2 separate regions of the Homo sapiens genome follow, and region 2 is linked to region 1. The links are contacts of gene promoters, found by promoter capture Hi-C in human tissues and cell types (Jung and others, 2019). All regions are on one chromosome and are shown on one strand. Each heading gives the region's core, a stretch centred on a gene start or on the middle of the fragment in contact. The rest is flanking DNA. Distances are from core to core; before and after follow the strand shown. Region 1 holds the start of DLX2 (distal-less homeobox 2). Region 2 overlaps CYBRD1 (cytochrome b reductase 1).

Region 1 (3,910 bases), core at 740-3,239:
ACTTGGACCGGCGGTTCTGGAACCAGATTTTGACCTTTGAGGAAAAAGACCTGAGCATTAGTGGAGGAACCTAGTCTTGGGGCAGTAGGGGTTCGAAGAGGAGAAAAAAGAAGGCAGAGAAAAACCGCTGGCTAGCGGTGGGCAGCGAGCGCCCTGGGGAGATAAGAGGATCACGGGCGGCGGCCTTCGAGGCTCTGCCGGTTCCTGCTCCCTGGGGAGGTAATTGCCAAAAGGCCAGGACTGCTGGTGTACGTGCACTGTGATGATGGTGACAGCGGGAGGGTGAGGAGGGCCAGTTATTTCACCCGCTTAATCAGTAGCGAGAGGTACGGGATTTCTGTCCACCCGGTCCCTTTCCTTCCCTCCCACGGCGGCCCCTTGGGGGTTTCCAGCTTTGGGCCTAGAAGCTTACTTAGGGCCGCTCGAGGCGCAGGCCTGGAAATCCTTAAAAGTACTTAAAATGAACTTTAAAAAGCATTGTCCTAAACCCGCCTGCTTCCCAGCCATCTCAGGCCCGCGCTCTCCTCGCCCCTGCAGGGCGCGAGCCCCACCTGAGTCTGGGTGAGGCCCAGAGAGGCCGCCAGCTCGGCTCGCTCCGGCAAGGCCAAGTATTGAGTCTTTTGGAAACGCCGCTGAAGAGCCGCCAGCTGGAAACTGGAGTAGATGGTGCGGGGTTTCCGGACTTTCTTTGGCTTCCCGTTCACTATCCGAATTTCAGGCTCAAGGTCCTCCTTCTCTGCAACGATAAAGAATCGTAAGAACAGCGCAACCCAGGGGTCCTGGAGTTCCCGCCCTCCTAGAGGGCCCGGCGGGGGGGACTTGGCTTGAGCAAAGAGGTGGGTGCACTGAACTGTGGCGCCACGGGCAGGCGCAACTTCGCAGCGTGCGATCGGAGCCGCCACCGACCCCGGGAGCTGTACCCTCCAGGGAAGGGGGAGACAAGTGCACACCCAAGAGAAAGAAGCTGGTGGCAAGGAGATGCCCTTATGAGGCAGGCAGAGCACGCCCACTTGGCTCTTGAGGCCACCAGGTCCTACCAAAGGAGAGAGGGACGTAACCGGCGACCTGCGGCAGATTGGAGGCTGGGGAGGGTAAAGGGCACAAGCGGGCGGTGAGCAGGCAGCGTGAAAATCCAGAGCTTTCGAAGGCCCCCCGCCCCAAACACGTTTACCCATCCATCCCATTAACTAGACCGACTCGGCACTCTTGACTTCAGCGTTATGCATACCAGGCTCGTTGTTGGCTGGGGACGAACTGGTTCCATAGGGAGCGTAGGAGGTGTAGGCGGCGGTGTAGCCCAGGTCATAGCTGCTCTTGGCGGAGTAAGGGACGTTGTTGAGGCCGCTGGCTTGGTACTGGTAGGAACCCATGTGCGCGTAGGGCGAGCCCCCGCCGCCGCCGCCGCCCGCCGGGTGCTGCTGGTTGGTGTAGTAGCTGCTGTCGGTGGCGGTGGACACCGGAAGGGTGGGCGACTCCTGGGGCTTGTGGAGGCTGCTGCTGCTGCTGCTGTTGCCACCCGGGCCGGCGCCGCCGCCGCTCGGGGGCTGCTGGTGCTGGTGGTACGTGCTGGAGGCGGCGATCTGGGTCGAGTGCATATCAGCCACTAGACTGTCAAAGACTCCAGTCATCCTGGCCCGAGACGGGAAAGAGCAGAGGTGGCGGGCGTGCGGGGGAAGCCAGGCGCCTCCTCTGTCTCTCCCGGTCCCCTCCAGCAGCCAATGTAATTACGGGGGTGGTGGTGGGGAAACAAGAAAGGAGGCAACCGTCTAGGCGCCTCCTCCTCCGGGGGAGGCGATCACCGTGCGCTGCTCGGGACAGCTGCCTCTGGTCGCATCCTCTTTCGGCCTCTGGGCCCGCTCGGCTCCTTGCCCAGCGCGAGCGCGGGCTCTGGCGGGGGGCGGGCAGTGGAGGGGGCAGGGGTGGCTGGGCCGGGTCGGGGCTCTGGGAGGCGGGAGCAGGTGAGCGGCCCCGAGCGGCTTTACGATTGTCTGCCAGGCGGGCTCCTGAAGTGTGGGCATTTAACACTCGTCACGTGAGCGCTGGCGACGTCACCTAGCAACAGCCAATCAGAAGCAAACGGCCGCGGAGCTCCGGGAACGCCCGGCCAAGGGGCGGGCGTCACATGGTGGGCGCTGTGGCTGCGGCTGCGGCTGCAGCGGCCCCAGGTGCAAACAGACTGCCGCCGAATGTGAGCAGCGAGGCGAGGGGTCGAGGTAGCGAGGAGTCAGGGTGGCCCGCAGCAGGAAGACAGAAGGCGTGGAGACAGACTGGCGTTTTGCCTCAGAGGAAGAAGTGGGGTCCCCTCTCCCATTCTGTGAGCAAGTGCCAGTTCCAGTGATTCGTACTTTCATGTCCGAGGTCAGTTTTCAAACACATTAAAGTACATCGGTGCCCAGAGTCCAGCCAGCTCTATCTTCACTTTTCCTCGAAGTGTCTGGCATTTATTCTTGTTAGCCACTCGGCACTTGACATAATCAATTGATTTAATTATCCACAAACCACGTGTAATGCTCGCTTCTTAACCAATCCGCAGGGATATTAGGACAATTAATCATATAATATTGAAACGGGTTTTCCTTGTTGCTTCAAAGAGAAGCTACATAAACTTAAAGGTATTATTGCTAATAGTATATTTGAAACCACTTTCCCTGGTACTTTCCCGACACGCGAGACTCTGAGTAATTATATACGTTTGATAAGTAAATGACACCCTGAAAGCCATCCCGAGGACTTCCTCCTTCGGGTGGAAAGGTTCACCAGTTGTCCTTGAAAATTCGATGCTCTTGCGAAAAAGGAAATAGGATAATAGGTGAGATTATAGATTTATCAAGTAGATACTAGATTTATCACTTCTCTGTAAATTTACAACAAATATAAAAAGTTTTATCTGGTTTGTTGAATTTAATCCTGTTTTACAGTTTTGCATTTTAGGACCCTGTTCTACCCTATCATTGCAATTTTTTTCTTTTCCCTCTGTTTTTTAAAAAATCGGAAATGGTGACTTCCTCTGTCTCTATAACCTTGTAGTTGGAAACCTTGGCCCGACGGTGATGGACTGCACGACTTGCTGGACTCCCAAGTCCGAAGTTCCTGCGGCAGCGCTTGCTTTGTGGCGCCACCTGGTGGGCAGTGTGCGAGGTTGCGGGGGGCGGGGTAGACGGTCTAATCACGCCCAGGCGCCAGCCTCTGAAACCCCCCAAAAGAACAAAATAGTAATTAAAAGCCACAAAATTGTGCTAGTGCGCACCATCTGAAGCACCCTTTCCTAAAGACATAACATGTCGCTGAAAGAACTTGTTAAAACAACTGTCTGATAGAAAACAAGTTGATACCTTCAAAAATATGATCTTTGGTCTTCTTCCCCATAAAAAGCAAGTGTGTAATTAAAACTCCAGCATTCACACAGAGAAATAATGAGATAGGTAATGCGCCTTTAAGTCTACCTGGATTTAGTTCCCAGCTTTTTTTTGGTTAAGGAAGGCCCCTAGATGGAAAGCGCCAGCTTATGAGAAACGTTGGAGGTGGAGCTCACCTCCACCCACCTGCATTGCTTTATGCGGTTCTCTGCCTACTTTGTGGGCCTCAGCTGCAAAACCAACCTCTTGATATTGAAACATGATTGCCTTTTGGTGTTTTTTTGTTTGTTTTTGTTTTTTTGAGACGGAGTCTCACTCTGTCACCCAGGCTGGAGTGCAGTGGCGCCATCTTGGCTCACTGCAACCTCCACCTCCTGGGTTCAAGCGATTCTCCTGCCTCAGCCTCGTAAGTAGCTGGGATTACAGGCGCGCGCCACCACTCCCGGCTAATTTTCGTATTTTTAGTAGAGATGGGGTTTCACCATGTTGGTCAGGCTGGTCTCGAATTCCTGACCTCGTGATCTGCCCGCCTTTTGGTGTTTTGACTTCAAATT
Region 2 (3,862 bases), core at 728-3,227, 570 kb before region 1:
TTGACACATTTCTCTGTGATGCTTCATAGCATTAGAAAGAGTAAGAAGTCTTCACTGGGAACACGGTTGTCTTTGAATTTTTGGCTTTATTTATTTATTTTTGAGACAGAAAAGAGTAAGAAGTCTTCACTGGGAACACGGTTGTCTTTGAATTTTTGGCTTTATTTATTTATTTTTGAGACAGAGTCTTGCTCTGTTGTCCAGGCTGGAGTGCAGTGGCTCGATCTCAGCTCACTACAACCTCCACCTCCTGGGCTCAAGCAATCCTCCTGCCTCAGCCTGCTGAGTAGCTGGGACTATAGGCACACACTGCCAGGTGTGGTTTATTTTTGTATTTCTTTGTAGAGATGAGGTTTCACTGGGTTGCCCAAGCTGGTCTTGAACTCCTGGGCTCAAGCAGTCTACCCACTTTGACTTCCCAAAGTGCTGGGATTACAAGCATGAGCCGCTGTGCCTGGCCCCCACACTTTCTAAAAGTAAACTTTTTACTGAAGAACAACATACATGCATAAAAGTACCTAAATCGGAAGGGATGTGTGTTTATCACATGCACACATCCGGGTACCCAGAACAAGAAGCAATATTCTGTGCACATCAGAACCCCCCCAGCAACCCTTGTAACTCCTTTGAGTCATGATATCATGATAGTTACTCTTTTTTTTTTTTTTTTTTTGAGACAGTGTCTTGCTGTGTCACCCAGGCAGGGTGGAGTGCAATGGTGCGATCTCAGCTTACCTCAACCTCTGCCTCTCGGGTTCAAGCGATTCTCTTGCCTCGGTCTCCCCAAGTAGCTGGGATTATAAGCACATGCTACCATGCCCAGCTAATTTTTTGGGTTTTTTTGAGACAGAGTCTGGTTCTGTTGCCCAGGCTGGAGTGCAGTGGTATTATCTCTGCTCGCTGCAACCTCCGCCTCCCGGGTTCAAGCGATCCTCCTGCCTCAAGCCTCCCAAGCAGCTGGGATTACAGACATGCACCACCATGCCCAGCTGATTTTTGTGTTTTTAGTGGAGACGGGGTTTCACCATGTTGGCCAGGCTGGTCTCAAACTCCTGACTTCAAGTGACCCACCCGCCTTGGCCTCCCAAAGTGCTGGGATTACAGGCATGAGCCACCACGCCCAGCCTGTATTTTTAGCAGAGACAGAGTTTCACCATGTTGGCCATGCTAGTCTTGAACTCCTGACCTCAAATGATCTGCCTGCCTCAGCCTCCCAAAGTGCTGGGATTACAAGTGTGAGCTACTGCGCCCAGCCTACTCTTGACTTTTAATATCAGAGATGAGTTTTTATTTTGGGAATTTTTGATATAATATGATCCAGATTGGGGAGAAAATGCTACTGTGGTTCATTGTTCATAATTTGCTTTTCGAGTGTTGAAATCCTGAGTATTTTTTTTTTCTGTATGTAGATGTTCAAGTTCACTCATCTAAGACTCCTTACCCGGAGTGGTGTTTGCATAATGTGATGGTGATGATGATAACAAAAAAACAACAATATTAATTTTAAACCATGAATTGAGGAGGGACAAACTACTTAACCTCTCTGCCTCAGCTTCCTCTGTACAATAGTAATAATAATTCTATCTTCACAGAGTTGAGGTGAGAATTATAATGAAACTGTGAAGCACTTAGATGGTACCTACTACCTAGCAAGGACTCAATTGTGTGTGTGTGTTTGTGTGTCTGTGTATGTGTGCGTGTGTGTGTAATAAATGAGCCCAACACAGGCAAGGGGGAGATGTGTTATTAGGTCTTCATATATCGCACATTTTTATTTTACTATTGCGTGATCACACACAGATTGCAGAAGGCTCCACTTTGTAGATAAAAGTTCACTAGGTCATTGGGTAAAGAGGCATTTGCTTTCCCAGGAAACTAAAGAATTATGTAGGGTCTGCTTAGAGGAGAAAAAGCATGAGGAGGGGAAACCACAGTGTTTGAGTTGACATCAATTTAGTTTCCAGATTTGATCAGTCTGTAGAAAGTGCTTTGTGTTTGTTTATTTAAACAATACTTATGGGTCACACATACACACAAGTAACCTAGTGAAATCTGAATAAGGGATGGAGGAGGAGGGAGAGAAAAAAATAAAAAATAAGTAAATTTTAAAAAAACCTGAATAAGGTCAGAGGATTGTATCAATGTCAATTTCCTGGTTGTGCTATGGTACCATAGTTATATAAGGTGTTAGAGAAAACTGGGTGAAGAGTATATGAGATTTCTCTGTACTGTTTCTTACAACTGCTTGTGAATCTATGATAATCTCAAAATAGTTTAAAAAATAAGTTCTAGTGTTCTATATAGCACTGTAGGACGACTAGAGTTAACAATAATATGCTATATGCTTTCAAGTAGCTAAAAGAGAGGATATTGAATGTTTTCAACAAAAAGAAAAGAGTTTGAGGTGATAAATATGCTAATTACCTTGATCTGATCACTATACATTGTATGTTTTGAAACATTACTATGTACCGCATAAATATGTACAATTATTATATGTCAAGTTAAAATTTTAGGCCAGGCACAGTGGCTCACACCTGTAATCCCAGCACTTTGGGAGGCCAGGGTGGGCGGATCACCTGAGGTCAGGAGTTCAAGATCAGCCTGGTCAACATGGCAAAACTCCGTCTCTACTAAAAATACAAAAATTAGCTGGGCGCGTATTCCCAGCTACTCAGGAGGCTGAGGCAGGAGAATCTCTTGAACCCAGGAAGTCGAGGTTGCAGTGAGCTGAGATCGCACCATTGCACTCCATCCTGGGCAACCAAGAATGAAACTCCATCTCAAAAAGAAAAATACAGAGATTTAAAAAATACTTATGGAGGAGCTACATGCTTTGAGTCCAGGGCTGCCTTAGGCTCTGGGGATACAGTGGAGAACCAGCAAGACACATTAACGCCCTCAGAGAAGATGAAGTAGGGGTGAGAGGGGGCCTTGAGTTTGCTTTAAAAGTGTACTTTTTAAGGTATTGCATTAAATCATTTGAAAAGATTCCTTGAATATAGAAATGATTATCCAAAAAGTCTCCACGTTCTCAAGGAAGTATAACCAATCGACATTCATAGGATACCCATATACACACTAAATTTAGTAAGTAGCAGTCCTTCAGGGTTGGGATTAAGTAAAAGAAATATTGTCCTAATGGTGAGGACTGTTAAGTGTTAGAATGGAACCAAAGAATAGGAAAAATGACATCCTGTGCTGAAAGCTTTAAAGAGGCTGAATTCACATCGGTCTTTGTAGGTTTAGATGTGTTTCTGTCTGAAAAAGGAATAGATAATCCCTTATATTTTTATAATCCTATGAAGTTCTTGGGTGTTTGTTTGTTTGTTTTTTGAGACAGAGTCTCATTCTGTTGCCCAGGCTGGAGTGCAATGGTGCGGTCTTGGTTTACTGCAACCTCCGCCTCCCGAGTTCAAGCGATTCTCCTGCCTCAGCCTCCCAAGTAGCTGGGATTACAGGTGCCTACCACCACGCCCGGCTAATTTCTGTATCTTTAGTAGAGACTGGGCTTCATTATGTTGGCCAGGCTTGTCTCGAACTCCTGACCTCAGGTGATCCACCTGCCTTGGCCTCCCAAAGTGCTGAAATTACAGCACCGAGTGGCTCACTGAGCGCAGTGAGCCACTGCGCCTGGCCTGAAGTTTTATATATTAAAATTATAAAAGCCTTTGGTGAAGTGAGGCTCCTTTTTATTTTCTGGAATTAAGAAATGTACATGAGGCCAGGCACTGTAGTTCATGCCTGTAATCCCAGCACTTTGGGATGCTGAGGCGGGTGGTGCACTTGAGCCCAGGAGTTCAAGACCAGCCTGGGCAACATGATGGAATCCCATCTCTGCTAAAAATAGAAAAAATAGCAG

The links. The method cuts DNA at HindIII sites, captures the fragments that hold promoters and counts their contacts. A contact is called where the count stands out against the background at its distance.
Region 2: a contact is called between a fragment that was not itself captured here and the fragment with the promoter of DLX2 in region 1, in 1 of the 25 tissues and cell types used here (lymphoblastoid cells).

The regions. Positions count from the first base shown.
Region 1 is chr2:172,100,911-172,104,820 of GRCh38, forward strand. It overlaps DLX2 (distal-less homeobox 2), which reads right to left and starts at 1,990. Exons shown (of 3, transcript NM_004405.4): 1 at 1,229-1,990; 2 at 552-736; 3 at 1-34. The coding sequence starts at 1,628. DLX2-DT (DLX2 divergent transcript) reads left to right here and starts at 2,096. Exons shown (of 5, transcript NR_126376.1): 1 at 2,096-2,358; 2 at 3,028-3,122. RefSeq lists a silencer at 1,792-1,991. The HindIII fragment of the contact is 12,259 bases long and covers 1-3,910 here.
Region 2 is chr2:171,535,480-171,539,341 of GRCh38, forward strand. The region is part of intron 1 of CYBRD1 (cytochrome b reductase 1); the gene reads left to right. Among named protein-coding and RNA genes, the nearest start is that of CYBRD1, 15 kb to the left of the region's middle. The HindIII fragment of the contact is 4,986 bases long and covers 1-3,862 here.